Regions from separate parts of the Homo sapiens genome. Here regions 2, 3, 4, 5, 6 and 7 are each linked to region 1. Evidence: promoter capture Hi-C in human tissues and cell types (Jung and others, 2019). All regions are on one chromosome and are shown on one strand. Each heading gives the region's core, a stretch centred on a gene start or on the middle of the fragment in contact. The rest is flanking DNA. Distances are from core to core; before and after follow the strand shown. Region 1 holds the start of CDC42BPB (CDC42 binding protein kinase beta). Region 2 holds the start of RCOR1 (REST corepressor 1). Region 3 overlaps RCOR1 (REST corepressor 1). Region 4 overlaps MARK3 (microtubule affinity regulating kinase 3). Region 5 has its middle 6.6 kb from the start of MARK3. Region 6 overlaps LOC124903390 (a long non-coding RNA gene). Region 7 has its middle 20 kb from the start of SNORA28.

Evidence for each region. The method cuts DNA at HindIII sites, captures the fragments that hold promoters and counts their contacts. A contact is called where the count stands out against the background at its distance.
Region 2: the fragment with the promoter of RCOR1 here is called in contact with the fragment with the promoter of CDC42BPB in region 1 in 1 of the 25 tissues and cell types used here (dorsolateral prefrontal cortex).
Region 3: a contact is called between a fragment that was not itself captured here and the fragment with the promoter of CDC42BPB in region 1, in 2 of the 25 tissues and cell types used here (lymphoblastoid cells and spleen).
Region 4: a fragment that was not itself captured here is called in contact with the fragment with the promoter of CDC42BPB in region 1 in 1 of the 25 tissues and cell types used here (dorsolateral prefrontal cortex).
Region 5: a contact is called between a fragment that was not itself captured here and the fragment with the promoter of CDC42BPB in region 1, in 2 of the 25 tissues and cell types used here (dorsolateral prefrontal cortex and liver).
Region 6: a fragment that was not itself captured here is called in contact with the fragment with the promoter of CDC42BPB in region 1 in 1 of the 25 tissues and cell types used here (spleen).
Region 7: a contact is called between a fragment that was not itself captured here and the fragment with the promoter of CDC42BPB in region 1, in 1 of the 25 tissues and cell types used here (thymus).

What each region holds. Positions count from the first base shown.
Region 1 is chr14:103,055,866-103,060,066 of GRCh38, forward strand. CDC42BPB (CDC42 binding protein kinase beta) reads right to left here and starts at 1,684. Exons shown (of 37, transcript NM_006035.4): 1 at 1,134-1,684. The coding sequence starts at 1,308. RefSeq lists silencers at 1,356-1,435, 1,526-2,025, 2,066-2,175 and an enhancer at 2,171-2,821. The HindIII fragment of the contact is 24,533 bases long and covers 1-4,201 here.
Region 2 is chr14:102,589,698-102,593,898 of GRCh38, forward strand. It overlaps RCOR1 (REST corepressor 1), which reads left to right and starts at 2,952. Exons shown (of 12, transcript NM_015156.4): 1 at 2,952-3,490; 2 at 3,569-3,628. The coding sequence starts at 3,190. RefSeq lists enhancers at 1,224-1,273, 1,555-2,370 and silencers at 1,949-3,258, 3,319-3,928. The HindIII fragment of the contact is 11,930 bases long and covers 1-4,201 here.
Region 3 is chr14:102,649,992-102,654,192 of GRCh38, forward strand. The region is part of intron 2 of RCOR1 (REST corepressor 1); the gene reads left to right. Among named protein-coding and RNA genes, the nearest start is that of RCOR1, 59 kb to the left of the region's middle. RefSeq lists an enhancer at 3,277-3,776. The HindIII fragment of the contact is 4,634 bases long and covers 1-4,201 here.
Region 4 is chr14:103,403,165-103,407,365 of GRCh38, forward strand. MARK3 (microtubule affinity regulating kinase 3) reads left to right here. Exons shown (of 18, transcript NM_001128918.3): 2 at 1,912-2,103. Among named protein-coding and RNA genes, the nearest start is that of MARK3, 20 kb to the left of the region's middle. The HindIII fragment of the contact is 3,197 bases long and covers 299-3,495 here.
Region 5 is chr14:103,376,667-103,380,867 of GRCh38, forward strand. No RefSeq gene overlaps it. Among named protein-coding and RNA genes, the nearest start is that of MARK3, 6.6 kb to the right of the region's middle. The HindIII fragment of the contact is 6,371 bases long and covers 1-4,201 here.
Region 6 is chr14:102,753,959-102,758,159 of GRCh38, forward strand. It overlaps LOC124903390 (a long non-coding RNA gene), which reads left to right. Exons shown (of 2, transcript XR_007064356.1): 2 at 1-4,201. Among named protein-coding and RNA genes, the nearest start is that of TRAF3, 21 kb to the right of the region's middle. RefSeq lists enhancers at 506-705, 776-945, 3,838-4,201, 3,866-4,125. The HindIII fragment of the contact is 8,282 bases long and covers 1-4,201 here.
Region 7 is chr14:103,355,421-103,359,621 of GRCh38, forward strand. No RefSeq gene overlaps it. Among named protein-coding and RNA genes, the nearest start is that of SNORA28, 20 kb to the left of the region's middle. The HindIII fragment of the contact is 3,148 bases long and covers 574-3,721 here.

The DNA of each region.
Region 1 (4,201 bases), core at 434-2,933:
GATTAGAAATTACTGGTTCGAACTGAACAGTCCTAGCCCAGTGACGCAAATGACCCAAGGATAAGGTTTTCATAGGTTTGGCCTGAACATACGCATTTCCTCCTCCTACTCAGTGGTTTTAGGTGAGACAGTCTGAGGGTCTTGACCGGCACACCCGTTAGGGAGAGATGAAGTAAAAGAGTTTCACGCTGCACTTTTACCTGTCTTTAGGATCCTAATTATCGTTAAATGGTTTAATCAAATTTTTGTCCTAAAAAAGCATAATAGGTTAGCTGACCAATGATTAAAACATTATAGATCCGGAACGAACTAGAGAAGGCATGCAAAATTCAGATGAGAAAGTTTCTAAGTGATAGCTCCAGCTACCCCTCCAAATATCACAAAGGTCTAGCAGAATTGGAATTAAAAAAAAAAAGTCCTCTTGCACGGTTTATTTAAAATAAAGCCTTAACCTTAAAATTCCCTTGAAGGTGTTACAGCAAAGTAGGTATTCAGGCTCTGACCAACAAGGGGATGTAGACAGGCTGTCACCCAGGAGGGGCCGTTAGAGCTGGGCTCCCTGGGGATGCAAGGGGGTCCCACGGGGCAGTGGGCGAGGCAGATGCAGAAAGCACACCCAGCTGCCCCCACAACGCAGAGAAGCGTGGGGTGGGGAAAGGGAACTAATTCCACACTGCCTCCGGACCCCAAAGGCGAGGTGCGGGGGCGGGGGCGGGGGCGGGGGCGGATATCCCAGTGAGTGCTGCAGGAAATGATATCCAGACTCGGAGGGTGGATCTAGGAAGCCGCCAGGGCGAGGGCCCGGCGGGGGGGAGGGGGTGGGAGTGGGAACGTAGGATGTGGCTCCAAGGGGCAGGATGAGGGGGCGGGACGATCGAACGCGGATGTCGAGCCTAGGGAGGGCAAGGAGGGATGAAAAGCTAGCGGAGGGACGAGGGTGCAAGGAGCGGCTGGAGAGAGATGGGCTGCGGGCCTGGGGGCGCTGCCAGAGCGAGAGGAGGCGAAGCCCACGAGCTGGGTGGGCAGGAGGGCGGCAGGGTCTGTCCGGGCGGGGATGGGCGGGCGTGGGGATGCGCGGGCTGGGGCGCGGGGGTCGCAGAGCCGCAGGTCCGGCCCTGCCGGCGCGCACTTACCCCACTCGAGGAACTCGGCCACGTACTTGTCGCGGCGCAGGGCCGAGTGGCTGCACTCGGTGTACAGGCAGACGAGCACGTCGAGCAGCGTTTCCACGCTCAGGGCGCTCTCGTTGCGCCAGGGCCCGTCCAGGAGCAGCTGCTCCAGCTTCTTGAGCCGCACCTTGGCCGACATGGTGCCGCGCGGCCCGCTCCCGACGCGCCGGCCTCTCACCGCCGGCTCGGCCAGTCCGTCAGGGCGCGCCCTCGGGGGCTCGGCGGCTGCGAGCCCCGGCAGCAGCGGCGCCTCCTCGCCGCCCCGTCCGCGTCGTCGCGCCCCGGCCTAGGCCGACATCTTGGGCTCCGTCCCGACGGCGCAGAGTCTGGGGCGCCGGGCCCCGCGGGTCCATGGGCCGCTCTCCTCCCCTCGGCGCCGCCGCCCTCCCAGCTCGGGCGGCCCGCCCCCGCCGCCCTCAGCCCCGCCCGCGGCCGCGCCCTCCCCGCCGCCGCCGCCGCAGACTAGGAGCGGCGAGGAGCCTAGCGCTGCGCAAGCCCGGCCGGCGCCCGAGCCCGACCCCAGCCCCGACCCGGCGGCCCAGCCCCGCGGCCCGCAGCCAACCAGGGCGCGGCCAGCACCAGCGCAGCCAACCACTACGGGGCCGGCCGCCGCCGCGCTGACCTCAGCGCGCCGCCCCGCCCCGCGCCCGGCTCCCTGCTCCCGGCGGGCTCGGGCCTCGCCGCTTGCCGTAGGGAGCCGGGATGCTGGGAAGGCAGGGCCGGGCCTGGGGAGCGGCGCGGGGTGGGGGTGGGGGGGGCGGGGCGGGGCGAGTGGGCCGCTGAGATTGCGGAGCCCGCGCATGCGCAGAGCGCGCCTGGTGGGCGTGTGCGCCTTCGCCCTGCGGACCCGGTGCCTTCAGTATTCGGGGTCCGACCGCGCGCGTCGCGGATCCCGGGGCCGAAGACGACCCCAAGTATCGGAGAGGCAGAGTCGCGATCTCAGGCCGTCGAGCCCCGTCCCGCAGTCCGCGGGCCCATGTTGCCTGCGGGGCCTCGGACCTGCCCGGCCGAGGTGGGGGTCGAGGGCGGCCCGGCAGGCGCAGCTCTGATGGCCTCGGCGGGTTGTGGGCTATTTAAAACGGCTTGTCCCAGCTCGAAGCGGTCCTGGAAGACTCGGGCCCTACCCCTGACTTTACCGATGAGAGACTGAGGCCCAGACGGTGTGGGGTCAGGGCCCAGGCTTCTGGGGGATGCTGCCAAGGCGGGAGCCAGCGTCCCCAGTGCCCGGTGGATTCGTGATGGCTTGCAGAGGGTTTCAGTTTCCACTGTCCAGCCCTCCCTGCAGACCAATGCCTAGGTGTGACAGTTTGGTAGGAAAGGGGCCGGATATTTGTCTCCAGGCTGGGTTTGCCTAGCGAGTCGCTGCATTTACTAAGATTGTTGGTTAATTTGGGTGGCTGGGGGAGGGAGGCTGATGGAGATACCCCCCAACCCCAACAAACCCTTGGCGTCAGGAGAGGAGGGGCTTTTCCTGGAGCTTGCGGAAGGTCACCGAAATCGTGGGGGTATCTGAGAGCTTCTGGGGCGCGCGGGTGCAGGGGAAGGGGTCATGCTTCCGTGGAAGCGGTGGCCTCCAGGTGGAGCCGATGAAGGGGCAGATAGGGGTTTGAAGCAGGACGTTAAGGGAGCCTGAAGCAAAACTAATCTCTGGAGCTAAAAATAGGAGTGGGCCTGGCGCGGTGGCTCACACCTGTAATCCCAGCACTTTAGGAGGCCGAGGTGGGCGGATTGCCTGAGCTCAGGACTTCGAGACCAGCCTGGGCAACACGGTGAAACCCCGTCTCTACTAAAATACAAAAAACTAGCCGGGCGTGGTGGCGCGCGCCTGTAGTCCCAGCTACTCGAGAGGCTAAGGCAGGAGAATTACTTGAACCCGGGAGGCGAAAGTGCAGTGAGCCAAGATCGCTCCACTGCACTCCAGCATGGGCAACAGAGCACGACTCCGTCTTAATAATAGTAATAATAATAAGAAGAAGAAGAAGAAGAAGAGGAGTGGCTGCCTATGCCGGAGTTGTTGACTGGAACAAGAGGAGGAACCTTCTGGGCTGCTGGTAATGTTCTATGCCTGGATTTGGGTAGTAGTTACATGGGAGCACGCATAAGTAAACATTCTTCAAACTGTCTTCTTAAGATGAGTGCATGTCACTGTGTGTATGTATATATAATACCTTCATTTCTTAAAGGCAGGTGAGAACAATCTGGCGTTAGAGGTGAGAGTACTGGTTGCCTTTGGGGTATCAACTGGAAGGAGGCACAAGGAGAGGCCTCTAGGGGGCTGGGAACATTCTGTATCTTCAGCACAGCCGTTTTGTAACGTTGGGTCTGTAAATGTGTATAAATTCATCAAACTGTATTCTAAATATTTGCATGTTACTATTTGTGTATGACACCTTAAAAGTTTTTTTTAAAAAGTCTGAGCAGATCACCTGGCTCAAAATCAAAGTTAAATCTTCCCCCTTGGACCCCTTAGGGCCTGAGATGAGCAAGGGGAAAGGGGGCTGTGCCTGGTGCCATCTCCTTCCCCAAACCTCCCTCGGCTCGCTCAGCCCACTTCCACCCATCTAGAACCACCACCGGGAAGGGAGAAAGGGAGAAGTGGGGAAGGGCTCCAATCCCATCTGGATTGGCAGAGGGTAAAGCTGACCCTGTCTCTCCTGGGAACATTCATGGGCTCCTCGGTGGTTCCCTGCTGCTTTGTCTCCTGAAGTCCCCTTAACTCAAGCAGATGTGCCACTGGGTGGATGCTTACCTGGTGGCTGTGGAGGGGAGGGGCCCTCTGCCCTTCCTGAGGGACTTTTGGACAGGACCTAAATGGATCCATGGGTCTTGTGCTTGCTCATCCACCCAGCTCACATCTGTCCTCAGGAAACACTGGCACACTCCTCGCCCCAACATTAGTGAACAGGTGGGTCCCAGCACAGCAGCATAGCTCTGCCTCTGAAACAGCACATGAGCCCTTCCTGCCACTGTGCCCTCCAAATTGAGTGCCAAATATTGAGCTCTCTGAGAAATCCCTTGGAAGCCACCCTCAC
Region 2 (4,201 bases), core at 1,702-4,201, 460 kb before region 1:
GGACTCCAGCCTGGGCGACAGAGTGAGACTCTGGATAAAAAAAAAATTAATGAAAGGAAAAAGGCAAGGAGGAATCCCAACGATGACAGGTTGAAAGCTGCAGAGGAGACTGATGGGGAGTGACCTGTGAGGTAGCAGGACCAGGTGAACTGGAATCCCCAGGTCCAGATAAGTGAGGGTTTCCAGGAGGAGGAGTGGTCGACTCAGCTGCTGCTGAGAAGCTCAGCGAGACCAAGAAGTGACCCCCGGATTGGGCAGCGGAGAGGTTGTAGGTTACCTTAGCAGCAGTTAAGGGGTGGGGACACAGCCCTGCTGGATGGGGTGATGAGAGGCTGGGACGGGAAGGGGTGGAGGAGGTGAGTGTAGGGAAGTCTACAGAAATGTCTGAAGGGAGGGAGAAATGGCCAGAGGCAGGAGAGGGTTTGGGGGCAGGAGTCGGTCCAGAGTGAGGCTGATGGCACAGAAAAGCCTCGAGGGGAGGGCAGCGGGATGGGGTCCTAGGCCTGAGGAGGACGTGAGTACCCGACAGGGAAGTTTGTCTGTTTGGGTACTGGGAGAGGAGAAAGATCCTGAAGGCTTTCGTTTTTCTCTGAAGAATGAGGTAAGGCCACGGGCTAGGAGCCCAGGCAGAAGGGGCTGTGGGAGGTGTAAGGAGAGGGGAGCAGGCATGAGGTCTCACTTTCAGAGTGGGAGTCTCACCGAAAAACATGATAGGGCTGCCGGCTTTGTGGATGCGTTAGAAGTGTGGGATCACAAATTCCCAATCCCAGGGCTGTGTGTGGAGCCCTCTCCCCAAGCGATGGGAAGGCGAGTGTCCTTAACGTTGGGGTTCCCTATGCTGGAAGGATGGACTCTATTACAGTCCATCAGGCCAGGAGGTAGGTACTGTTTCCTGTATTTTACGGTTGGTAAATCTGAGAGCTTCAGGCCAATACAGTATCGGTGTAGCATTAGGGTCAGACAAAATAGAACAGGGCCCGGCACATATTAAGTGTTAATATTCGTTGGAAAAAAAAAAAAAAGAATGCTTGTCAAGTCCACTGCTGCGCCCCTACTGGTAGCCCAGCCTGGCCTCAGCCTTGGGGGCTGGTGGGTGGAGAGGGCGGCCTTGTGTGCTCTGCTATCCCTATTGCCTTAATGACCCAGTATCACCTTTGTGCCCTTGTAGGTTGATCCTTCTAGTCTCGTGGCAGAACTTTGTAGACACCAAGCGAGCGGGGCAGCGTGTTCTGGACCTCATTCCTCACACAGGGCTCACCTCCGGATGAGTCAGAGGCCTTAGCCGGTGGCCCAGCCCCGGGAATGCCACCCCGGTTCTGTACCCTGCCCAGGCCAGCTGACAGGGTGTATTGGGGCACACACCTGCAGCATCCAGGGCACTCCAAGGAGAGGGACGTACTTTTGAGGAGAGTCTAAAAGTCTAAGTCCCCCACCTGAACTTGGTGGGGGAAGGGCTTCTATACCAGGAGGGCTCCCAGCCCTGTTTCTTAAAGGCCATTTAGGCAGAAGTGAACGTGGTCTCTTCAATAAAGTTAATAATGGTTCATGCTGCAGAAAATGTTCAAGACAAAACCCTGCTTATTTACTCAGGCTTTAAAACCATAAAACTCCCAAATTCTCCCTGTAGCTATTTATATCCAGAGCTAGTCCCCAAATTAAGCTCAGGTTTGAAGTAACTTAAAAGAAAAATAGCCTTCCCTGCTTTAAAAAGATTTTCCGTATAGACCTCCACTGGTCTAATTACGAAGGGCGCGTAGTTTCAGGGTTGGCTGGGGGTAGGGCACCGGGACCTCCAAGGCAGTTACACTCCTCAGCCTCCTAACAGCTGTACGGCTGCCCGGTGGTCCCTCTCCAAGGCAGCGGCTCTCAGGCTAGCCTCAGCCTACCCCACCCGCCCGCACCCCGTGTTCTCCCTCGTGGGGGTGCCGGGGGGAGTAGGGAGGCGGGGCGGGCGGCAGGTCCGGAAAAGTGGCTGCCCTCGCCCCGAAAGAAGTTGACCCTCCTCCCGTGCCGAGAGCTTGGGATGAAAATAGCTTCTTCCTCTTTACCCTTCCTGGACCCCCGCCCCAGGACGACTGGGCCCCTTCATTCATCTTTCAGCGGCCACCCAGGCGGCTTGGGCGTCCCCACGCCGGGACTCTGTGCCCCGGGGACCCACGGGGACCCTCCCTTGGGCCTCTGAAGCCGCGGCGCACCCCGCACCCAAGCCACCCCGGGGGCCCCGGCCTCCCCCACCCAATTAGCGGGCAGCACCGCAGACCCGAGTCCCCACGCAGCTCGCGCCAGGGGAGGCGGCCGCCTGGGAAGCCCGTCCCCCGCGCCGCGGCCCCCGCCCCCGCCAGCCCCGCGTCCCCTGGGAAAGGCGGGGGCGCAGCGAGTTTCCCCCAATTAGTTTCCTCTTTGTATGGAGTCTTAGCGCGCCCGTACTCCTCCGCGCAGCGGAAAGTAGTCCCGGCCGGGCGCTCCGCGGCTTCCCAGCGCCAGACACATTTTACTTTGAGAAGTCGACGGGACTCTCAGCGGGGTCCTTCAGATGGGGGGCCAGAGGCTGCGGGAGGCGTGCGCGGGCAGCAAGGGCAGGGGCCGCGGCCAAGGGTAGGGGGCGGGGAGGGCCGCGAACTCCTCGCCGCTGCCTGGAGAGATGGATCATGGGGCGTAGGGAGATGGCAAACCTCAAACCACGTACGGCGGGCGATACGCGTCAACCGAACCTCGCCAACGGAAGCCCGGAGCCGCCCCTCCCCGCTCCCCCGCCCCGCCGCCCCGGACGGACGGGCGCGCGGAGCCAACCCCGCTGCCGCTGGCTGTCCAAATCCCACCAGAGCCAATGGGAGCGCGAGGGGGGGCGGAGCCATCTCGCGTCAGTTGGGCTGCGCGCCCCCCTCCCCCGGCGCCCCTGCAGGCCCCGCCCCTGCCTCCTCCCCTCTCCGCTCGCTGCTCCCGGAGTAGTTGGTGCCAGTGAAGTGAGGGCGGCGATGAGAGCGAAAGTTGCGCTCGGCTCGTCGCTGGGGGCTTGAAGCGGCTCCGCGCTCTGCCCGTTTGGGCCTCCCCCGACTCGGACTCGCGCCCGTGGGCTCCCGCCGCGCCCGCCCGGCCCCGCGCCGGCCCCGCGCCCCCTCCCCCGTCTCGGCGCCCCCTCCTCAGGAGCCGCGGGTCCCCGCCACTTTCGCACGGCCCCGGCCCCCGCCGATGCCGGCCATGGTGGAGAAGGGCCCCGAGGTCTCAGGGAAGCGGAGAGGGAGGAACAACGCGGCCGCCTCCGCCTCCGCCGCCGCCGCCTCCGCCGCCGCCTCGGCCGCCTGCGCCTCGCCAGCCGCCACTGCCGCCTCGGGCGCCGCCGCCTCCTCAGCCTCGGCCGCCGCCGCCTCAGCCGCCGCCGCCCCCAATAATGGCCAGAATAAAAGTTTGGCGGCGGCGGCGCCCAATGGCAACAGCAGCAGCAACTCCTGGGAGGAAGGCAGCTCGGGCTCGTCCAGCGACGAGGAGCACGGTAGGTGGCAGCCGCCCCCGCGGCCCCGGGCCCCGCGCCCCGCGCCGCGCTGACCGCCGTATTCTGCTTCCCCCGCAGGTGGCGGTGGCATGAGGGTCGGACCCCAGTACCAGGCGGTGGTGCCCGACTTCGACCCCGGTGAGTAGCGGCCCCGGCCGGCCGGCGGCGGGGATGAGCGGGAGCCCCGGGTCCCCGGCGAGCCCGAGGGGGCGGGAGCCCGCCGACAACTTTCTTTTTGTGCGTTCGCCCTGCCGTCCGTGGGGAGAACAGCAGGGCGAGGACGAGGAGGCGCACACGCACACGAGTGTTCTGCAAACGTGCCTCTGCACCCGGGGGAGGCCAGGTCGCCCCCAGCAGGGCCGGCGCCGCTGCCCCCTTGCGCCTCCGAGGACTGCGGGTGGCGTCGGAGGTGGCCACACCTGGCCTGGGGGCGCTGGGGGTCCCTGCGTCCAGGTGAGCTGCGCCTCGGCCAGGGGTAAGGGTGGCAGTGCCGGAGAGTTAGTGTCCTGCGAGCGCCCCGGACTTAGGAGGTCCCCAGAGACCCCTTTCTCGGAACCCTTCCCAAAGGCTGCTCCCCACGCCTTTGCTCCTCCTCTCAGCCTCTGGGCTCTTGCTGGCTCCTGACTGCCCTCCCATCCAGAAGGCGAGTAGAAGAACGACCCCCCAAAACCAGTCAATAAAAGAAGTGTGTTTTCCAGAGGGCGCCTGCCT
Region 3 (4,201 bases), core at 725-3,224, 410 kb before region 1:
GATGAGACCATCCTGGCTAACATGGTGAAACCCCGTCTCTACTAAAAATACAAAAAGTTAGCCGGGTGAGGTGGCGGGCACCTGTAGTCCCAGCTACTCAGGAGGCTGAGGCAGGAGAATGGTGTGAACCTGGGAGGTGCAGCTTGCAGGGAGCCGAGATCGCACCACTGCACTCCAGCCTGGGCGACAGAGCGAGACTCCACCGCAAAAAAAAAAAAAAAAAGAATCATAGTGGCCATGGGCATGGTGGCTGGTGCCCATAATCCTGGCACTTTGGGAGGCTGAGGTGGGAGAATCACTTGAGGTCAGGAATTAGAGGCCTGCAGTGAGTGCCACTGCACTTCAGCCTGAGGGACAGAGCACAGAGCAAGATCCTGCTTCAATAAATGGATGGATGGGTGGGTGGGTGGGTGGGTGGATGGAGGAATCATAGTGATCAGCAGTGCTTAATGACTGAGATTAGTCTATTCTGAAGTATGTTAATAAAGCTTGAAGGATCAGAGGAAGAGAGTAGGAAAAAAGCACACACATTCTACAAACCTCGCCACATCCACTCAGTTAAAAGACAGAACAGGATTCCCTTGGATGTTGGGAAAGGGAAGTCAGACGTGAAAGTTGTAGACAGGATTAAGCCACTTAATTTTCCTATTAAATGGACTCTAGAGAGTAAGTTCATGCTTCTCATTTTACTGATGGAGAAGCAGTACCACATACTTGGTGAAATTCCTGTGTCTGCAAAACATTGGTTATTCTGCAATTGTTATATATAAAGGGATAAACATTGAAGTTATTGGTCTCTTCCTTCTCATTGGTATTGTGGGTGTTCTTTACCAACTGAGTTAGGAACTGACTTGAGATATTTTAAACTTACGGGACTTGATTTAGAGCACTTACTCTTAGATGTTAAATATTTGGTTTGCTCTTTATTGAATAACTTAATTATCTTATTACTAATAATTCCTGTATTAGACAATGAGACTTAGACTCATAATAGAATACAGGTATCTTAATGAGAATGTTCTCATTTAAAACACTAACTCCTAATTCACTAGCAGCTAATAAAACTAACATTGTTGCACAGTACATTGTTGACTAGTTAGAAGAATTTGACAGTATGTTTGGTGCTGAGACCAGCTCGGTCGGGGAGACCCTAACCCAGCGGCGCTAGAGGAATTAAAGACACACACACACAAATATAGAGGTGTGAAGTGGGAAATCAGGGGTCTCACAGCCTTCAGAGCTGAGTATTGCTATTAATAAAGGGTGTAGAATTTGAAAATAGGCCAGGCGTGGTGGCCCACGCCTGTAATCCCAGCACTTTAGGAGGCCGAGGAAGGCGGATCATGAGGTCAGGAGGTTGAGATGAGCCTGACCAACACAGTGAAACCCCGTCTCTACTAAAAATACAAAAATTAGCTGGGCGTGGTGGCGGGTGCCTGTAATCCCAGCTGCTCAGGAGGTTGAGGCAGGAGAATTGCTTGAACCTGGAAGGCAGAGGTTGCAGTGAGCCGAGATTGCGCCACTGCACTCTAGCCTGGGCAACAGAGTGAGACTCCATCTCAAAAAAAAAAAAGAAAAAGAAAAAAGAATTTGAAAATAGCTTGAGAGACTAGAGAAGAAGTGAACTGATTTATTTTATATTTATGTATCTTATTTTTTGGCTTGTTGACCAGAAGTGAATTGATATGAATAAGCACACTTGCAAAATAAATGGGTTATTTATTTATTTATAGAGACAGGGTCTTGCTTTGTTTCCCAGGCTAGAGTACAGTGGCACCATCATAGCTCACTACTGCTGCTGGCAACTTCTGGGCTCAACGGGTCCTCCTGTCTTGACCTCCCAAAGTGCTGGGATTATAGGCATGAGCCGTCATGCCTGGCCCCCTAATTATTTAGATAGCCCTGTAGACCTGATTTCTTGTGGCTGAAGGTCTCTCAAATTGATTCTCAGTAGGCTTCATAAATAAAAGGGAACTTACACTGGAGGATCTTTATGCTGAATTGGCTTAGAATAAGTAGAAATTGCTAGGAATGTTTTATTTTTGTTTATTTAATTTGCTAAATCTGCTTTAGATATGAGCCTTGTAACTGGATTTCTTAAAAGTGTCCTTATGATTGAATCTATTTGTGGTGTTTGGATTGATTATTTTAAGTTCCTACTATGTACCAGACGTTTGCTACTTGTTTTAACTTGCTGTTTAATCTCTTTGAAGAAGGAACTGTTTCCTCCATTTTTATAGAAGAGAAAATTGAAACTTAAAGAGATTAGAGAACTCTCCTTCAGTCTAGGCAGAGCTGGGATTCCATTTCAGGACTGTTATGCTACACCAAATAAATGCTTGCTGCGTTAAAGAATGACTTAACAGTGAACACCTTAAGTCTTCATTGCCCAGTTACGTGAATGGAAGAAAGGCTGAGCAGTGAATTACAAACACTCTCTCCTCTAGTCTTCTGGCAGTGTTCCTTTACCTAATTCTGTGTCCTCAAACGCCCTGTTTTCTTTAGGTGATTATATTATTTGTTTCTTTTAAGCTTGCCTGTCTGCTTGTTCTTCTGAACAGTTCCCTTCAAATGTTACACCATCCACCCACATCTGTATTTCAGTATTTTATTGTGTCCTTTCATTGAGACTCTAATTTGGGTGAAAATTCTCCAAACTACATTTCTTTTTAGCATATTCTATTTTTGTCACCTAGAATCAGCCTCCCAGCTGACTTTTTCCCATAGATACGTAACAACCACCTGCTTTAACATTTTCTATCTTCCACTTAACAAAAATATTACTGTTGATAAATAATGAATACTTAGCATGTATAACTGTGCAAATAAAATGGGAGGAATGTGTATCGGGAAGATTTGAGGGGAGTGTGGATAAAAAACTGTTTGAAAATACCAGCTGTTGAATTTTATAGTGTTACTCTTTTTATTTTTATTTTTTAGTTTTATTATTACTATTTTTTGAGATGGAGTTTCGCTTTGTCGCCAGGCTGGAGTGCAGTGACGTGATCTTGGCTCACTGCAACCTCTATCTCCTGGGTTCAAGCGATTCTCCTGCCTCAGCCTCCCGAGTAGCTGGAACTAGAGGCGCGCGCCAGCCAATTTTTGTATTTTTAGTAGAGACAGGGTTTCACCATGTTGGCAAGGATGATCTCGATCTCTTGACCTCATGATCTTCCTGCCTCGGCCTCCCAAAGTGCTGGGATTACAGGCGTGAGCTACTGCACCCAGCCTATTATTATTTTTTAATTGAGACTTGTCTTACTTTCACCCAGGCTGGAGTGTAGTGGTGCAATCTTGCCTCACTGGAGCCTCCGCCTCCTGGGCTCAATCGATCCTCCCACCTCAGCCTCCTGAGTAGCTGGGACCACAGGCACTCGCTACCGTGCCCAGCTAATTTTTTCTATTTTTGGTAGAGACAGGGTTTTGCCACGTTGTCCAGGCTGGCCTCGGCTTCCCAAAGCGTTGGGATTACAGGCATGAGCCACCACGTGCAGCCTATAGTGTTATTCTTTAGTAGTTCCTAAAAGGCTTGTGTTAGATGTTTATAGCTGATAGTTGTGGTTTGAATCTGTGTCCCCAGCCAAATCTTGTGTCGAATTGTCATCCCCAGTGTTGGAGGTGGGGGCCCATGATTGGATCATGGGGGTGGATATCCCCCTTGGTGCTATTTTCATGATAGTGAGTGAGCTCTCGGGCGATCGGGTCGTCTAAAAGTGTGTAGCACCTCCCTCTTGTCTCTCTTGCTCCTCCTCTGGCCATGTTATATGTGCTTGCTTTCCCTTTGCCTTCCACCATGATTATAAGTTTACTGAGGCCTCCCTAGAAGCTGAGCAGATGCCAGCATCATGCTTCCTGTACAGCCTGCAGAACCTTGAGCCATTGAAACCTCTTCTCTTTATAAATTACCTAGTCTCATCTCAGGTATTTCCTTCTTTCTTTCTTTCTTTCTTTCTTTCTTTCTTTCTTTCTTTCTTTCTTTCTTTCTTTCTTTCTTTTTTTTTTTTTTTTTTTTGAGACGGAGTCTGGCTCTGTCGCCCAGGCCGGAGTGCAGTGGTGCGATCTCCACTCACTGCAAGCTCTGCCTCCCGGGTTCACGCCATTCTCCTGCCTCAGCCTCCCGAGTAGCTGGGACTACAGGTGCCTGCCACCACGCCTGGCTAATTTTTTGTATTTTTAGTAGAGACAGGGTTTCACCGTGTTA
Region 4 (4,201 bases), core at 647-3,146, 350 kb after region 1:
TTTACATTGCAAAAAGCTTTTTTAACAAAAATTTTGGCCAGTAGTATAAATTCAGTGAATATGTTTTCATTGCACAGATAGTAAAACCACTTGATACATACCTCATGGGGATATGGACTGCTTTATGCGCTGCTTTTTACCACACCTTAAATAGTGCCTGGTTGTGTGTGTGTGTGTGTGTGTGTGTGTGTGTGTGTGTGTGTGTGTGTAACTCAGTAAATATTCAATGAATGAATGAAGAAATTCAGAAGATAAAAAAGAGAAATTTCCCTTATTTTTAACCTTCTGAACACTATAGTGGTTAGCATTTATATCATTTATTCAGCCATTCTAATATTTATTGAGTAGCAGTTTTGTACCAACTGCTGTTCTAAGATATAAGGAATAATAAATTCCTGTTACTGTTTTCATGAAACTTAAATTCTAGTGTAATTAAAATCATGTAGAAATAAACATAAACATGATCACCCAGCTTCTTTTAAAACTAGACTGCAGTTGATGTAATAATTTGCATTACAACAGCATGCATCTTGTGCACAACAAAATCTACCTGTTTTTGTATTAAAGCCTTAGTGTCAAAGCTTTATTATCATTTTAGTCTTTTATCAACTCCATATTTATAAATGGTCTATTTTCCCAAAGTTCTAATATGGAAATCAGAATCATTTTTGTTAGAGGAACAATGTTTACAAGTTGCCTAGATTTGCAGTGAGGTCATAAAAAGCCTGTTTAATCTAAAATAGACATTTGCAATAAAAACAGAAATTGTTGTTGAGATGCCATATTATGTGATAACTGAGTAAAACAGACAAGAGCCTATCCCCTAACCTGGTATGTGAATGTGAAAATATTAGAGAAATAATGAAGAAGTAGATGGAGACTAATGAGGAAATTCTGAAAAGGACATCTTTTGAGAAATTCAGAGGTAGATGGCGCAAGTTTTAAAGCTTACTTTCACTTTAAAACACCTGAGTTTCATTTCCTTTGATTTGAGTAAATTACAAAGCAGTTTATTAGTTAAATCAGGCTTGTTTTGATTTATAGGTATATAGAGAAAGACAGGACATTTTCCTGGACAGAAAGTTGGAAAAGAGAAACGTGTAAAGGGGGTGGAAAGTGGCTGTGAGTGCATGTGGAATGAGAAGCCTCCCTTGGGCAGGAGTTAACAGCCACAATGGGGAAAGGATTGGGACATCTAATCCTTTGAGTGTGTGTGGGGGCCAAGGGAGCAGTAGTAGCAGGATGCCTGCGCATACAGCCATGTACACAGTGTGTACACAGAAGTGTAATTCTTGGGCCTGAATATTTCATAGGGTAGAGACATATTGAGTACTTTATTAAGTAAGCATATTGAGTACTTTATTCATCTATACAACAAGGGTCGTCTATTAAGGGCCACACAGTCTAGCTGTTTCTGTAAAGCACATTGTTTTGAATTACTGTTAGCAGTGTAGTATAGAAGGAAATCGGGAATCCAGATTCTCTATGGATTTCCCCCTGAACAGTTATGTGGCTGTATCCTTATCTAGTGAATGGTGACATTAGCTTTTCCCCTGCTGCACGGGCTGTAGTGAGGCTCAGGTGTGCAGGTGCACTTACTAACATATGGAAAAGTTAAGCACTGTATAACCAGAAGGTAGCCCTTTTACTCCTATTTTATATGACAGCCACGTATGCAAAATATCTAATTTCTTCCTGAACACTCAATTGAACTTCAACACTTCGTATTTTTCGTCTCAGAATTTTTATTTTCCTCAAATTTATATTATGTGGTTAAATTCCTTTGAAGTGCTAGATACTTTAAGATTAAAATTAAAGTAGGAATGTTTTTTCTTCAATTAGAAGCTCTTAGAACTTGGCAAGTACTCTGTGTTCTCTCATTTCCTTATCTTTGTGTATGCTGTATTGCAGCACACGTCACATGGAGATGGGCGTCAAGAAGTTACCTCTCGTACCAGCCGCTCAGGAGCTCGGTGTAGAAACTCTATAGCCTCCTGTGCAGATGAACAACCTCACATCGGAAACTACAGACTGTTGAAAACAATCGGCAAGGGGAATTTTGCAAAAGTAAAATTGGCAAGACATATCCTTACAGGCAGAGAGGTAAATACCAGTTATGCTTATTTCTGTTATGACAGTTGCTCTGTTTATTTCCATGTAAGAGAAAGAAAAGAATATAGATATAGGCCTTATTTCTTTTTTTTAAGATGGAGTCTCGCTCTGTCACCCAGGCTGGAGTGCAGTGGCATGATCTCAGCTCACTGCAAACTCTGCCTCCCGGGTTCACACCATTCTCCTGCCTCAGCCTCCCGAGTAGCTGGCAGTACAGGTGCCCGCCACCACACCCAGCTAATTTTTTGTAGAGACAGGGTTTCACCGTGTTAGCCAGGATGGTCTCGATCTCCTGACCTTGTGATCCGCCCGTCTCGGCCTCCCAAAGTGCTGGGATTACAGGCGTGAGCCATAGCGCCTGTAATATATAGCTACTATGTATTACATGTATTACATGTCAAGTTCTAACCACATAATATAAATTTGTAATACATAGCTGGGATTACAGGCGCACACCACCACACCACGCTAATTTTTTTTTTTTTTTGTATTTTTGTATTTTTGTAGAGACGGGGTTTCACCATGTTGGTCAGGCTGGTCTCGAACTCCTGACCTCGTGATCCACCTGCCTTGGCCTCCCAAAGTGCTGGGATTACAGGCATGAGCCACCGTGCCCAACCTATTTTATTTTCAAGACAGGGCCTTGCCCTGTCACCCGAGCTGGAGTGCAGTGGCTCAATCATGGCTCACTATAGCCTCAACCTCCTGGGGTCAGGCAGTTCTCCCACCTCAGCCTCTCGAGTAGCTGAGACTACAGGCATGCACTGCCACACCCGGCTAATGTTTAAAAAATTTTTTTGTAGAGACAGGGTTCTCACCGTGTTGCCCAGGCTGGTCTTGAACTCCTGTGTTCAAGCAGTCCTCCTGCCTCAACCTCCCAGAGTGTTGGGATTACAGGCATGAGCCACCATGCCTCACTAATTAAGCTTTTTCTTTTTTGGGGGGTTAGGGGGGTGTCGGGGGTTGGGACGGAGTCTTGCCCTGTAGCCCAGGCCTGGAGTGAAGTGGCATGGTCTCGGCTCTCTGCAACCTCCGCCTCCCAGGTTCAAGCGTTTCTCTTGCCTCAGCCTCCTGAGTAGCTGAGATTACAGGCGCACACCACCACGCCTGGCTAATTATTTTTTTTTTTTTTGTATTTTTAGTAGAGGTGGGGTTTCACCATGTTAGTCAGGCTGGTTTCAAACTCCTGACCTCAGGTGATCTGCCCGCCTCAGCCTCCCAAAGTGCTGGGATTATAGGCATGAGCCACCACGCCCAGCCTAATTAAGCTTTCTCAAAAGAACATGAAACATATATTAGGTGTCTGGGAGTTTTTTGTTTTGTTTTTGTTTTTGTTTTTTTTCTGAGGCAGAGTCTCACTCTGTCACCCAGGCTGGAGTGCAGTGGTGCAATCTCGGCTCACTGCAAGCTCCGCCTTCTGGGTTCAAGCCATTCTCCTGCCTCAGCCTCCTGAGTAGCTGGGATTATAGGCATGAGCCACCACGCCCAGCCTAATTAAGCTTTCTCAAAAGAACATGAAACATATATTAGGTGTTTGGGAGTTTTTTGTTTTGTTTTTGTTTTTGTTTTTTTTATGAGGCAGAGTCTCACTCTGTCACCCAGGCTGGAGTGCAGTGGTGCAATCTCGGCTCACTGCAAGCTCCGCCTTCTGGGTTCACGCCATTCTCCTGCCTCAGCCTCCCGAGTAGCTGGGACTACAGGCATCCACCACTGCACCCGGCTAATTTTTTGTATTTTTAGTAGAGACGGGGTTTCACTGTGTTAGCCAGGATGGTCTCGATCTCATCTCGTGATCCGCCTGCCTCAGCCTCCCACAGTGCTGGGATTACAGGCGTGAGCCACCACGCCTGGCCCATCTGGGAGTTCTTTTGCTTTCCCATTACTTTAAACGTTGGAAATATCATAGAGTGTTTAAATAGTCTTTACCTTTAAAAATAGGTAATGTTTTGTTCTTTTTCAGTAGCAAATGTCTGCTACCACAGTAAAAATTGTCTTTAACTTCAGGTATACACTTATGTGTATGAGCTCATGTTACTTGCTAATCAATATTATTGTCAATATTTACAGATTTATCTTCAAGAAGTTTCTT
Region 5 (4,201 bases), core at 1,254-3,753, 320 kb after region 1:
GCCTATATTTCTATTGGGTTGTTGATCTTATTAAATTATAGATCTTTCTTTCTTTCTTTCTTTCTTTTTCTTTCCTTGTAATGGAGTTTTGCTCTTTTTGCCCAGGCTGGAGTGCAATGGCATGATCTCGGCGCACTGCAAACTCTGCCTGCCAGGTTCAAGTGATTCTCCTGTCTCAGCCTCCTGAGTAGCTGGGATTACAGGTGCACACCACCACACCTGGCTAATTTTGTATTTTTAGTAGAGGTGGGGTTTCACCATGTGGGGCAGGCTGGTCTCGAACTCCTGACCTCAGGTGATCTGGCCTCCCAAAGTGCTGGGATTACAGGTGTGAGCCACCGTGGCCAGCCAATTATAGACATTTCTTATATGGTATGGATTTAAATCCTTATCAGTTATAACTTCTCCCAGTTTGAGGCCTGCGTTTTTACCCTCTTTATGGTGTTTTTGAAAAACATAAACTGTTAAAAAAGCTTTAACTGTGTATTCCTTTGCAGCTTTTTATTTTGCACTATGTGTACTGAGGAACAAAAGAAAAAAATGAAATTTGAGACCAGACGTGGTGGCTCATGCCTGTAATCCCAGCACTTTGGGAGACCGAGGCAGGCAGATCACAAGGTCAGGAGATCGAGACCATCCTAGCTAACACGGTGAAACCCTGTCTCTACTAAAAATACAAAAAATTAGCCGGGCATGGTGGCGGGTGCCTGTAGTCCCAGCTACTCGGGAGTCTGAGGCAGGAGAATGGTGTGAACCCAGGAGGCGGAGCTTGCAGTGAGCCGAGATCGCGCCACTGCACTCCAGCCTGGGTGACAGAGTGAGACTCCATCTCAAAATAAATAAATAATAAAAAGAAAGAAATTTGAATTAAAACCAAAGAGCTTAGTCTGTATCACCCTCCCCTGATTAAATTTTTAAATTACAGTTCTCCTGTCCTGAAATTATATTATGCATGAGTTCTGCTATGTGTGTCCTGTGACCTGAGAGTGGGCAAGAACTTTCTCTGTTCACAGCTATGTCCTCAATGCTTCAAACATAGCTTTGCCCAAAGTAGGTGCTCAATAAACACTGTGGATGGAAGGAACAAAGGAAGGAGAGAGGAGTAGCGGGGCAGCCACCGAAGGCTGATGTGGCTTTTCATGACTCCACCCAGTGAGGCCCAACTGGCTCCAAGGGTAGGGCAGCAGCCTAAGGAATGGAGGAAATGGTCTTTCCTCAAGCAGAGCTTAGACTTTATTGTCTTGGAAAAACCTGTTTGTATTTGGGAGATGTGCTTACTTTAATAGGTCAACCCTGCAATAATGGGCAGGTCTGAGGCTCCAGGAGTGCTGGGGTAGTCTATTCACCCCCTTATTCTTTCTCTCTATCCTTTTTTACCCACCTGCCTTGCAGCCAGTGGGTGTCAGAGCCAGCAGCAGACTGGAGTCTAAGGGCACTGCTTTCTGTCCGTGAGCTTGAGAAGGCTTCTTGCCCTTCTGAATCTCCAAGTCCTTGCCTGCAAAGCACAGGCAATGATAAAAACACTAACGCCTTATCTGGTGTTGCAGGATCCCTTACCAAGGGCTTCTACGTCTCCTATCGTGAGCTCAGTACTCAGTGAGGTAGGCAAAACTGGAGGAGGAAACCGGGGAGGAGGAGTGAGTCTCTAACTCCCCACGCTGTGTGGCCTAATAAGCCTTGATCTGTGTTCTACAGACTCTGAGCTCTGTGCTCCTCTCTGGGGAACAGGTGGAAAGGGCAGCCCTCCAGGAGGTGGTGAGTCCTCTGAGCTTTGGAAGGGTGGACTCTGCACCTGCTGCGCTGGTGCTCTCTGGGAATTTTCTCCACGGACCTCCAGAGCAACTGTGAGTGGTAGCTGTTACCATTCCCATTTGACTGGTTCAGAAACCTTGCCTGAGGGACATGAAGTCACTTGCCCAAGGTCCCCCAGCATTCAGCGTCATAGTCAGAGTTCAAACTCCAAAGCCCTTGCCTCTGCCTCACCACTGTGGTCTCCCTAGACCTTTAGATATAGTTCCAGACAGTGGGTTTTCCCAGCTCAGAGCAGAGTGGGTCATGGGACAGGGCAGGCTCCAGAGGGCTACGCTACCAGAATCTGGTAATGACAACTGTGTATGTGTGCGTGAGAGGCGGCTGACCGATCTAGATGGGGACTGACCGATCTAGAACTAGATGGGGATCAATCATCTTCAGCAGATCCGAGAGCTGGAGAATTACTGCAGGGGCAAATGGCTCTTTCTCTCCTGCATCCCCCAGGGCCATCTCTACACTGCGGTGAAGCATGGGACGTGGTAAAAGGACACCTTTGAGCTGTGGGAAAAGCTGACACGATTTTTCAGAATAGTGTGTTTAGGAAGGCGGGGGCGCCCATGTTCTTCCCGAGAGGCGTTCCATCCAGAGCTATCTGGAAAGGCTGGGGTACTGGAAGCCAGAAGGTGGAGAATCACTGATGCAGCTCTACTGAGTTTTCAGCTGGGCCCCACCCACACTGACCTAAGCACAGGAGGTTCGAGGGCTCTCCACTGACCAGGAATGAAAGGATCAATTGCAGAGTTTCGGCCTTGGAGCCCAGTCCTGGCTCTCCCTTTGCTTGCTCCTGACGTTGGAAGAGTTACAGCCCCTCCTGAGTCTCAGTCAGTCGCCTCTCACGTGCCCATTGACGTCTCACAGGCTGTTGGAGAGTTAGGGGGTCCTAGCATAGGTGTCTTGTGCCAGGTACACAGCTGGAGCTCAATAAATGTACTGTGACCTCAGGCAGGAAAAGCCAAGGAGGGGCGGGCCACCCTGGGGGCTGGTCTGCAGAGTCTTCAGGGAAGAAGCCAGGACAAGGACAAGGACCCTGGATGAGGACAGGATGAGAGGATGGCTGCATAACAGCAGGGAGGCTTTGGGCAGGCAGGGGAGCCTTTCCAGGTGAGTGAATGGCAGGAACACAATCTTGGAAGTGAGAATTCCTGGGGTGCCTTCTGGGCCTTGAAGCAGGGCTCACAGAGGGCAACAGGACCCCGCTGGAGTGAAGAAGGGGACTGGAGGGTAAATTAAAAGAATAGCAGCTTGTCTGCCCTCATCCCCGGTGTGGGGGGAGCAGCCTGGCATGGAGTCCAAATGGACCTCATATTTCCCAAAGACTCAAAGCATCTGGGGCCTACCTGGAATGTCCCAGGAACACCTACTGCCCGGCCCCTCCTCTTTCCCCTCACCAAGCATGATGACTGCAATGTCTCATAATTATCACACTCTGCTTTTCTCCATCTCTGTGGCTTTACATATTCTCAGTGTTCAGCTCTTGGTCTGCAACATATCTGCGTACAAACACGCACACACACACACACACACACACACACACACACACACACACACACTGAGGAATGGCTCCCGGGTCCCAGTAGTTCCCACTCTCTGGTAGAGGAGTTGTGTTTGTGAGGGCTGTGATGGGGTGACAAGCCTGCAGCAGCCTTTCCATGTTCGTCCAAACTAGATGTGGTGCAGAGAGCACAGGCCTGTGGATCAGCAGATGTGACACTTAGCATGATGGTACTGGTTAGGATCAAGCTAGGCAGTAACACACAACCCAACTGTAGTGGGTGCAACAAGCAGGTGCTTATTTTTTTGCAGAAGAAATCAGGAGGATGGCAATCTCACTGCTAGTGCAGGTGCTTGAAGCTGCCATCGGGGACCCAGATACTTTCTGGTGATAGTGTATATGGGGGGCGTCTGCTGGAGCTTGGGAGATTTGGACCCCCATTCTGGCTCTGTTGCTAACTAGTTGTGCAGCTTCAGACAAAGCTTCTGAAGCTTTGACTTCATTTCTTTATTTGTTTTTAAAATTGCAGGCTGAGTATAGTGGCTCCTGCCTGTAATCCCAGCACTTTGGGAGGCTAAGGTGGGAGCATTGCATGAGGCCAGGAGTTCGAGACCAGCCTGGGCAAAATGGCAAACCCTCATCTGTACAAAAAAAAAAAAAAAATACAAAAAATTAGCTAGGCATGGTGGTACATGCCTGTGGACCCAGCTACTTTGGAAACTAAGGCAGGAGGATCACTTGAGCCCCGAAGTTTGAGGCTGCAGTGAGCTGTGATTGTGCCACGGCACTCCAGCCTGGGTGACAAAGTGAGGCCCTATCTCAAAAATGAATAAATAAAATTGTGGTAACAACATATAACATAAAACCATCTTAACCATCTTAACCATTTTTAAGTGT
Region 6 (4,201 bases), core at 736-3,235, 300 kb before region 1:
AAGGGACCCACTTGGAGGACCTTGGCAGGATACTCCCCAGACATGCTGGCTGAGTCCTGCTCCAAACTCCGGCTTTTGGAGGTGATGAGCTCACTGTCGTCCAGCGGGGCCAAGTTCCCCATCCTAAGTATAGATGAAGTTGCATTCTTGGAATATATATAAATCCTTATTTTGGGATGGGCCTATTGGTGTCAGCGTCTGATGTCTGTGTGATTTTTTTTTGACCTGCGTATCAGCAGGATGGTGACACACCAGGAAGGTCGTAAACTGGTCCGTGTCACTGTGAACAACACTGGCCTAAGAGAGGAAGAAAATGCATTTGGAAAGCCCAGCACTTGGAAATCCATCTGGTGGCGGGGAGCATGGAAAGGATCTGGTGGCCCCGAAGAGTCACTCAAGGACACAACGGAGCCAAACACCCTTTTTCATTTATTTGGATAGGTGGAATTTAGTTTTAATTATTTAAGAGAATACTTCATGAGATATTTTCAAAGAGAAATGGGATCTTAATAATCTGGGGCTCATTACACTCCTAGGCCATGAAATCTTTATACATCTCTGCTGGAGGTGCAGAGCAGCAGCCGGGCCTGGAGGACTGTGAACTTGGAGCGTGAGTGAGCAGAAGGTGGTGGCTGTGCTGTGTTAGAGGCTTCATTTCCTTGTCTGGGGTCCTGAGTTCAAGGGTGAGGCCACTTCCCAGGTGAAGTCACGGGAAGGAGCAATTCCAACAATGGCCATTGACAATGAGGAGAACGGAGGCAGGCTGGACACAGTCACCAGACTGCGAGAGCCGGCCTGAGGAGACTTGGAAACTGTCCTCCGCCAACCTGGCTGAATTTCACTCTTACTAAAGTTAACCCCACTCGAAGACTGGGGAATTCCAGCACCTCAGGGGAGAGGCTGAGTTATTTTTGCAACCCCAAATTAAATGATGCATGGTCGCTGGCTGTGCATGCCACGGGGCTTGATTTCCATTCCCCTGATTCACTCTTCCCTCCTCCAGGGCGCTCAGGCTCATGGAAACTGAGGGAAGCTCAGGGCCCTGACGACCCACCAGGCCCTGGCCAGGACACTGCATCCTGCTGGAAAGGAATGCCCCGTGAGGGGCTCACGGTGGATTTTTAATCCCTGTTCAGGTTCCCTGCCCTCACCCGAAAGGCCCCCACCCTTGAGCTCCCCCGGCAGCCCTGCATCTCTCTGGGGTCTTCCCAGGATGTGCTACAGAAGCCCCAAGCTGCACACGACCCAGCTCCTCACAGGCCTTTCTCCCAGACCCACTCTCCTTAGGCCCCCTGCCCTGGGTGTCTGGGCCAGCCAGACCGCTTGCAGCCTCAGCAACCCCCAACAGCCAGCTGATCATCAAATCCTGTCAATGACAGATCCTGAGCCCACCTCAGACCAACCCCTATGACCCACTTGCCAGTTGGAGTCCTGGCCTCTACTCAGACCCTTGACATCACTGTCCTCCGGTCTGACTGGTGGCCACAGTGGCCACCCACTCTGCCTGCGCCTGCCTTGGTCCACACTACCAGGAGTTTCCTTCCTGAAGAGGATCCAAGGATCCCATCACACATCTCAGCAGCCTTTGCCTGGACCCCTCCAGATAGGATTCAGACCTGCCCCTGACCTCCCTACTGGCCCTCTGTGTCCTGAGCACATGGCACCCTGGTATCTCTCTGCCACAGCCCATCTTGGGTCTGCTGCCTGAAGACCCCTCCTCTCCTCCCGAGCATGGAGGGCCCTGGGTGATCTTAAGAGGCGGCGGAAGCATTGCCTCCTTTCAGAGCCTTAGCAACTTGATGGACGTTATGGAATAAATGAATGAGTTCTTCTCCAAAAGAGGGAGCAGGGGTTCTGTGTTCCTTCTGTCCACCATCATCACGGAATCAGAGCACATCTGAGATGGGGGGACACAGCAATCCTTTGCTCCTCTTCATTGATTACAGGGAAACTGAGGCAGAGGTGGAGCCAGCCCCTGGCCTCCTGACTCCCAGGACAGGCCAGAGGCTACGAGACCACAGCCTCCCGAAGGGGACTCCCAAACTGCAAGACCGGACCCTGGGCTCCCCATGGCTGGAGCAAATGCCTCTGTATGTCCTCCCTCTGGAAATTCCTCCCCGAGGGACCCTCCGGAGAGAAGGATGTGACACTAACTCAGGACTCTCGAGGGTTCTTGGGGCACCTTTGAGAAGAGTCCAAGGCACTAAAATAGACTGGGTTCCCAGGAGTAAACAACCAAAAGGCTTAGTTAGACTCCTACTTGGAAAGTATGCCTACCTGTATCCCTATGCTGCTTAAACACCCCACCTCAGCAGAACCCCGCTAGGCACTGGGGCCCGGGTTCCCTGCATCTCGCCCACTGTGTCGGCTAAGACCATTTCAGCTGCAAGTATGAAACCTGACACAAATGGCTTGCGTGATAAGGAAAGTAGTGGCCTTTTCCAAGGAAGGACTCTTGGCTCTAGGCTCACCAGTTTGGCCCCTTGGTGGCATCTGCCTCCCTGCCTCCCTCCCTCCCTCCCTCCCTCCTTCCTTCCTTTCTTCCTTTCCTCCCTCCCTCCCTCCTTCCTTATTTCTTCTTTCTTCTTCCTTCCTTTCTTTCTTCCGGCAGAGTCTTTCTCTGTTGCCCAGGCTGGAATGCAGTGGTGCAATCTGAGCTCACTGCAACCTCCACCTCCCGGGTTCAAGCAATTCTCCCATCTCAGCCTCCTGAGTAGGTGGGATTACAAGGGTGAGACACCATGCCCGGCTAATTTTTGTATTTTTAGTAGAGACGGAGTTCTGCCATGTTGGCCAGGCTGGTCTCGAACTCCTGAACTCAAGTGATCCACCCGCCCCAGCCTCCCAAAGTGCTGGGATTACAGGCGTGAGCCACCACATCTGGCTGGCTCTTGGTGGCATCTTGAAGGCCATTTTCTCACCCTTTATCTCTGCCAAGCTCAGTAGATAGGATTCTGTGTGTCTTCTTTTGACCCAACCATCAGCAGCAGCAGGGAAGGCATCTTTGCCTCTGTCTTTTCTTTCTTTTTTTTTTTTTTAGATGGAGTCTTGCTCTGTCTACCAGGCTGGAGTGCAGTGGCGCGATCTCGGCTCACTGCAAGCTCTGCCTCCTGGGTTCACGCCATTCTCCTGCCTCAGCCTCCCGAGTAGCTGGGACTACAGGCACACACCACCACGTCCAGATAATTTTTTGTATTTTTAGTAGAGACGGGGTTTCACCGTGTTAGCCAGGATGGTCTCGATCTCCTGACCTCGTGATCCGCCCGCCTCGGCCTCCCAAAGTGCTGGGATTACGGGCGTGAACCACAGCACCCGGCCTTGCCTCTGTCTTCTTATCAGCCAAGAAGCCTTTCCCAGCATTCCTCAATAGCCACCCCTCACATCTCATTGGCTAGGATTGGGTCACATGCCCCAGGCTAAGCCAATCATTGTCTAGGAGAATCATTGGCTTAGCCAATCAGAGCCTATGCCTGAGGCACACAGGGCAATGCCTAGACCACAGGACAAAATTGGGCTTTGTCAGCAAGGAAGGAGGGGTGGCTGTTGGGTGGCCTGTGAGGCTGTCACCCATGTCCCCTCGCTTGTTCTGACAAAGGTTTTCATAAAAGAGCCACTTCTAGCCTGTCGTGGTGGGACCCTCAGATGTCCCTGTGCCCTCCAGCGTCTGGGCAACCTGAGGTTCTGGTAGGAGGAGAAGGCTACTTTGTAGAAGTCTGGAGGGCCTGGAAGAAGACATCTCTGCCCAGACAGTCCATTTAGTGTAGCTCGGGCCACCCCTTGCCATCCCGTGTCTAGCAGGTGGCCTGGTGAGTGTGGACTCGTCAGGAGCCGGGCCTCTCTTCCTGCTATCGCCCTCAGTCCAGCCGTGAGCTCAGCCACCACCTCACCAGTGCACACATCGGCCAGACAGCCACCAGCATTGCCTGCCTTGGGTGCCATGGGGGTTTGGCCTGAACTCTTCACCAAGCGCGGCTCACGAAGGAGCTCACTTCATCCTCACACCAGCCCCAGGCGTTGCTGACATCCAGAGCTGGGGAAAGGGCAGGACAGAGGTTGAAGGAAGTCACCCAGAGTCCCACAGCTGGAACGTGGGGGAGCTGGGATTCTAACCCAGGGCTCACACTGTCGCCCACACCCATCCAGGTGAAAGTTTGTTTTAAAAATTACATATAATTCACATGCCATGAAATTCACTACTTTT
Region 7 (4,201 bases), core at 898-3,397, 300 kb after region 1:
CCAAAGTGCTGGGATTACAGGCATGAGCCACTGCGTCCGGCCAGAATGAACTCATCTTGGGAAGTTCTAGCCATCAGACAGTTTCTAGCAGGGTCCAGGAGCGCATCAGGGCTGCTTTTTGAATGGTTTGTAGTTCTCTGTTGTGTAAGGCACAGACTTTCTCCAGAACCCAGGGGGTCTGTACTGGGAAGTAGCATCTTTCCCAACCACAGCCCCCTCTAGTTCCATTGCACCTGCTGAGTCATGGGTGCATGCAGGAAGCTGCTCTTGTGGCAGCCTGGGCTGCTGGAGAGCTCTTTCTGCTCCTGGCCCAACGCAAAACCAGCAGTCTTCCATGTGACCTGATGAATGGGTTAAACTGTCCATGTGGAGGCTCCTGAGTCTCCGTAGGCTTTATCTCCAGTCCCCTGGATGGCATGTGTCTTACCACGGCATCTGCTCTGATTAACGTGACGCCCTCTATATGGTGGCCAACATGCTGTTTTGCAGAATGTCTAGATGGTTCAGGGTGGAGGAAGATAATGAGTATCAAGTACAGCCTCAGGGCATTGGCAGCAGCCAGACTGTGGTTCTTCCCACTAACTCTCGTCTTGTAAATGTCCCCAGAAAAGTGTGACCAACCAGAGTCACGGAGAAGTCGTGCCTGGTCGGGACCACCTGGCAGTGAGAAGTAAGTGGGTCTGAATGGGGCAGAAAGGTCAGAGGCTGGCCCCGGATGCTGTTGAAAGTGTCATATCAACACTGTGCTGATTCCCTTCAGGGTTCTTTTAGAGGAGGGAAATAAACATTTGCCTTGTTTTGCATATTTTTTCTTATGCATGCAGCCAAAACTCGTCAAAGCTGGTATATAGGGGAAGATAAATACCCCCAAGAACAACGTGAGTGTCAGAGAAATCTCCCGCCCAACATCAGAAGAGATAGCCTAGCCAGAGCAGCCCAAACACACCATGAGCAAAATGAAAGTAAACAGCTTGGTAGATATGCAAGCATACACAGGGCCACTACAAGGAAGCAAAAACGTCAGTGTCATGAAGCACCAAAAAATAAATAAATAAATAAAATAAAATTTAAAAGTCTTCTTTAATCTAGAAAGAAGGTTGCTATGGACTAAACAGTATCCTCCCAAAATTTCTATATTGCAGACCAAACTCCCAGTGTGATGGTATTTGGAGATAGAGCCTTTGGGAGGTCATAGGGTTAGATGAGGTCAAAGGGTGGGGCCTTCATGAGGGGATTAGTACTCTTATAATAAGAGACACCGGAAAGCACTTCTGTTTTTCTTTTCTTTTCCTTTTCTTTTCTTTTTTTTTTTTTTTTTGAGACACGATCTTCCTCCATTGCCCAGGCTAGAGTACAGTGGCCCAATCTCAGCTCACTGCAGCCTTGACCTCCCGGGCTCAAGTGATTCTCTCACCTCAGCCTCCCAAGTAGCTGGGACTACAGGCATGTGTCACCATGCCCAGCTAATTTTGTTAATTTATTTATTTTTTGTAGAGACAAGGTCTCATTATGCTCCCCAGGCTGGTCTTGACTCCTGGATTCAAGCAATCCTCCTGCCTCAGCTTCCCAAAGTGCAGGGATTACAGGTATGAGCCACCACACTTAGCACAGAAAGCATTCTTGAGTGTGTTCTCTCTTCTCTCTCTTCTCTTCTCTTCTCTCTCTCTCTCTCTCTCCTGTCTCTCTCTCTTCTCTCTCTTCTCTTCTTTCTCTTCTCTCCCTCTCTCTCTCTCTCTCTCTCTCTCTCTCTCTCTCTCTCTGTCCCCTGTGGGGGTCACAGGAAGAAGACAGCAAGCCAGGAAGAGAGCCCTCACTGGGAGCTGATCATGCTGACACCACGATCTTGGACTTTCCAGCCTCCAGAAGGACAAGAAAATAAATCTCTATTGTGTAAGCCAATCAGTCTATGGTATTTTGTTATGGCAACTAAAGCAGACTAAAGATACATTTCTGCTAAATGCAATGTGTGATCCTCAGTTGGAGTCTGATTTTTTAATTCAACCTGCAAAGGAAAAAACAAACAAGGACAAGTATAAAAACAGATATGGTGAAATTCAATCCAAGGCAGAAAAGCAGGTGTCCCCAGATCCATCTCCCCATAAAAGAGCTCATAACAGTGGCTCACGCCTGTAATCCCAGCATTTTGGGAGGCCGAGGCAGGTGGATCAGTTGAGGTCAGGAGTTCGAGACCAGCCTGGCCAGCACAGTGAAACCCCATCTCTACAAAAATACAAAAATTAGCCGGGCATGGTGGCAGGCACCTGTAATCCCAGCTACTCGGGAGGCTGAGACAGGAGAATTGCTTGAACCTGGGAGGTGGAGGTTGCGGTGAGCCAAGATCGCGCCACTGTGCTCTAGCCTGGGCAACGGAGCAAGACTCCATCTAAAAGAAAAAAAAAAAAAAGAGCTCATAAGACTGTGACGTGGTGAGGCAACAACTCAGAGACAGGGCAGGAGCAGACAGAACCAAGATAATAACACTGCACATCTAATGGATAATGAAACAGCAAGAGGCCAGGCACGGTGGCTCACACCTGGCAGCTCCCACCTTCCAGCACTTTGGGAGGCCAAGGCGTGCCATCTTTTGAGCTCAGGAGTTCGAGGCCAGCCTGGGCAATATAGTGAGACACCGTCTCTAAAAAATATACAAAAATTAGCAGGACATGTCTGTGCATGCCTGTAGTCTCAGCGACTCTGGAGGCTGATGTGGGAGAATCACCTGAGCAAGGATGGGGAGGCTGTGGTGAACCAAGATGGGGGCAGGAGAATTGCTTGAACCTGGGAGGCAGAGGTTGCAGTGAGCCGGGGTCATGCCACTGCACTCCAGCCTGGGCGACAGAGACAGAGTCTGTCTCCAAAAAAAAAAAAAAAAAAAAAAAATACAAGCTTTGGAATTGGCCTGTAGTAACTGAACTTTCTGTTTGAGGTTTTTCTGGTGATTAACCTCTAACTACTATATAACACGGGTACATAGCTATAAGTTGCTGTCACTTTGAGACATTATCCCTTGGGGTCTCAGGTGACACCTGTAGAGGTGACTCACCACCCCATCCCCCCACATCTTCCTCTCAATGTGGTTATTACTATTTTCTATTATTATTTTCATTTTTTTTTAAACCGAGTCTCACTCTGTTGCCTAGGCTGGAGTGCAGTGGTGTGATCCCAGCTCACTGCAACCTCCGCCTCCCAGGTTCAAGCGATTCTCCTGCATCAGCCTCCCTAGTAGCTGGAATTACAGGCATGTACAACCGCTCCCAGCTAATTTTCGTTGTTGTTGTTGTATTTTTAGTAGAGATGGGGTTTCACCATGTTGGCCAGGCTAGTCTCCAACTCCTGACCTCAAGTGATCCGCCTACCTTAGCCTCCCAATGTGTTGGGATTTCAGGTGTGGCTCACACCACGCCTGGCCATTATTATTATTTTCAATCCCTCTATTGGTTCCTTCCATAAGCTTAAACATAATATTTGCGATTTTATTACTGGTTCTTCTATCCATAGAGGCTTCTCTTGATTCCCAACAAGGGAAGATGAAGATATTTGTTTCTCTAACCTTGGCTTTATAACCTCCACCTTCCAACTCCCAACTTAAGTCGTCTGTACTATTACTTTTATACTGTCAGAATTGATAGTATTTATAATCTGCTTGCAGTAGAAATAAACTGGTTTTTTGTTGTTGTTGTTGTTGTTGGGTTTTTCTTGAGACAGGGTCTCACTCTGTCACCCAGGCTGGAGTGCAGTGGTGCCATCACAGCCCACTGCAGCCTCGACCTCCTGGGCTCAAGGGATCCTCCCACCTCAGCCTCCCAAGTGGCTGGGACCACAGGTCAATGCCACCACACCTGGCTAATTTTTTAATTTTTTTGTAGAGATTGGATCTCACTATGTTGCCCAGGCTGGTCTTGAACTCCTCAACTCAAGCAATCCCCCTGCCTCAGTCTCCTAAAGAGTTGGGATTACAGGCGTGAGCCACTGCACCTGGCCCAGAATAAAGCTTTCTGTCCTTTACTTATAGGTCGATTCTAAAGGCGAAGATTGGGGCAACACTTTTCTTTTTTCTTTTTTTTTTTTTTTTTAAGATGGAGTCTCGCTCTGTCGCCCAGGCTGGAGTGCAGGTGGCACGATCTCAGCTCACTGCAAGCTCCGCCTCCCAGGTTCACGCCATTCTCTTGCCTCAGCCTCCTGAGTAGCTGGGACTACAGGC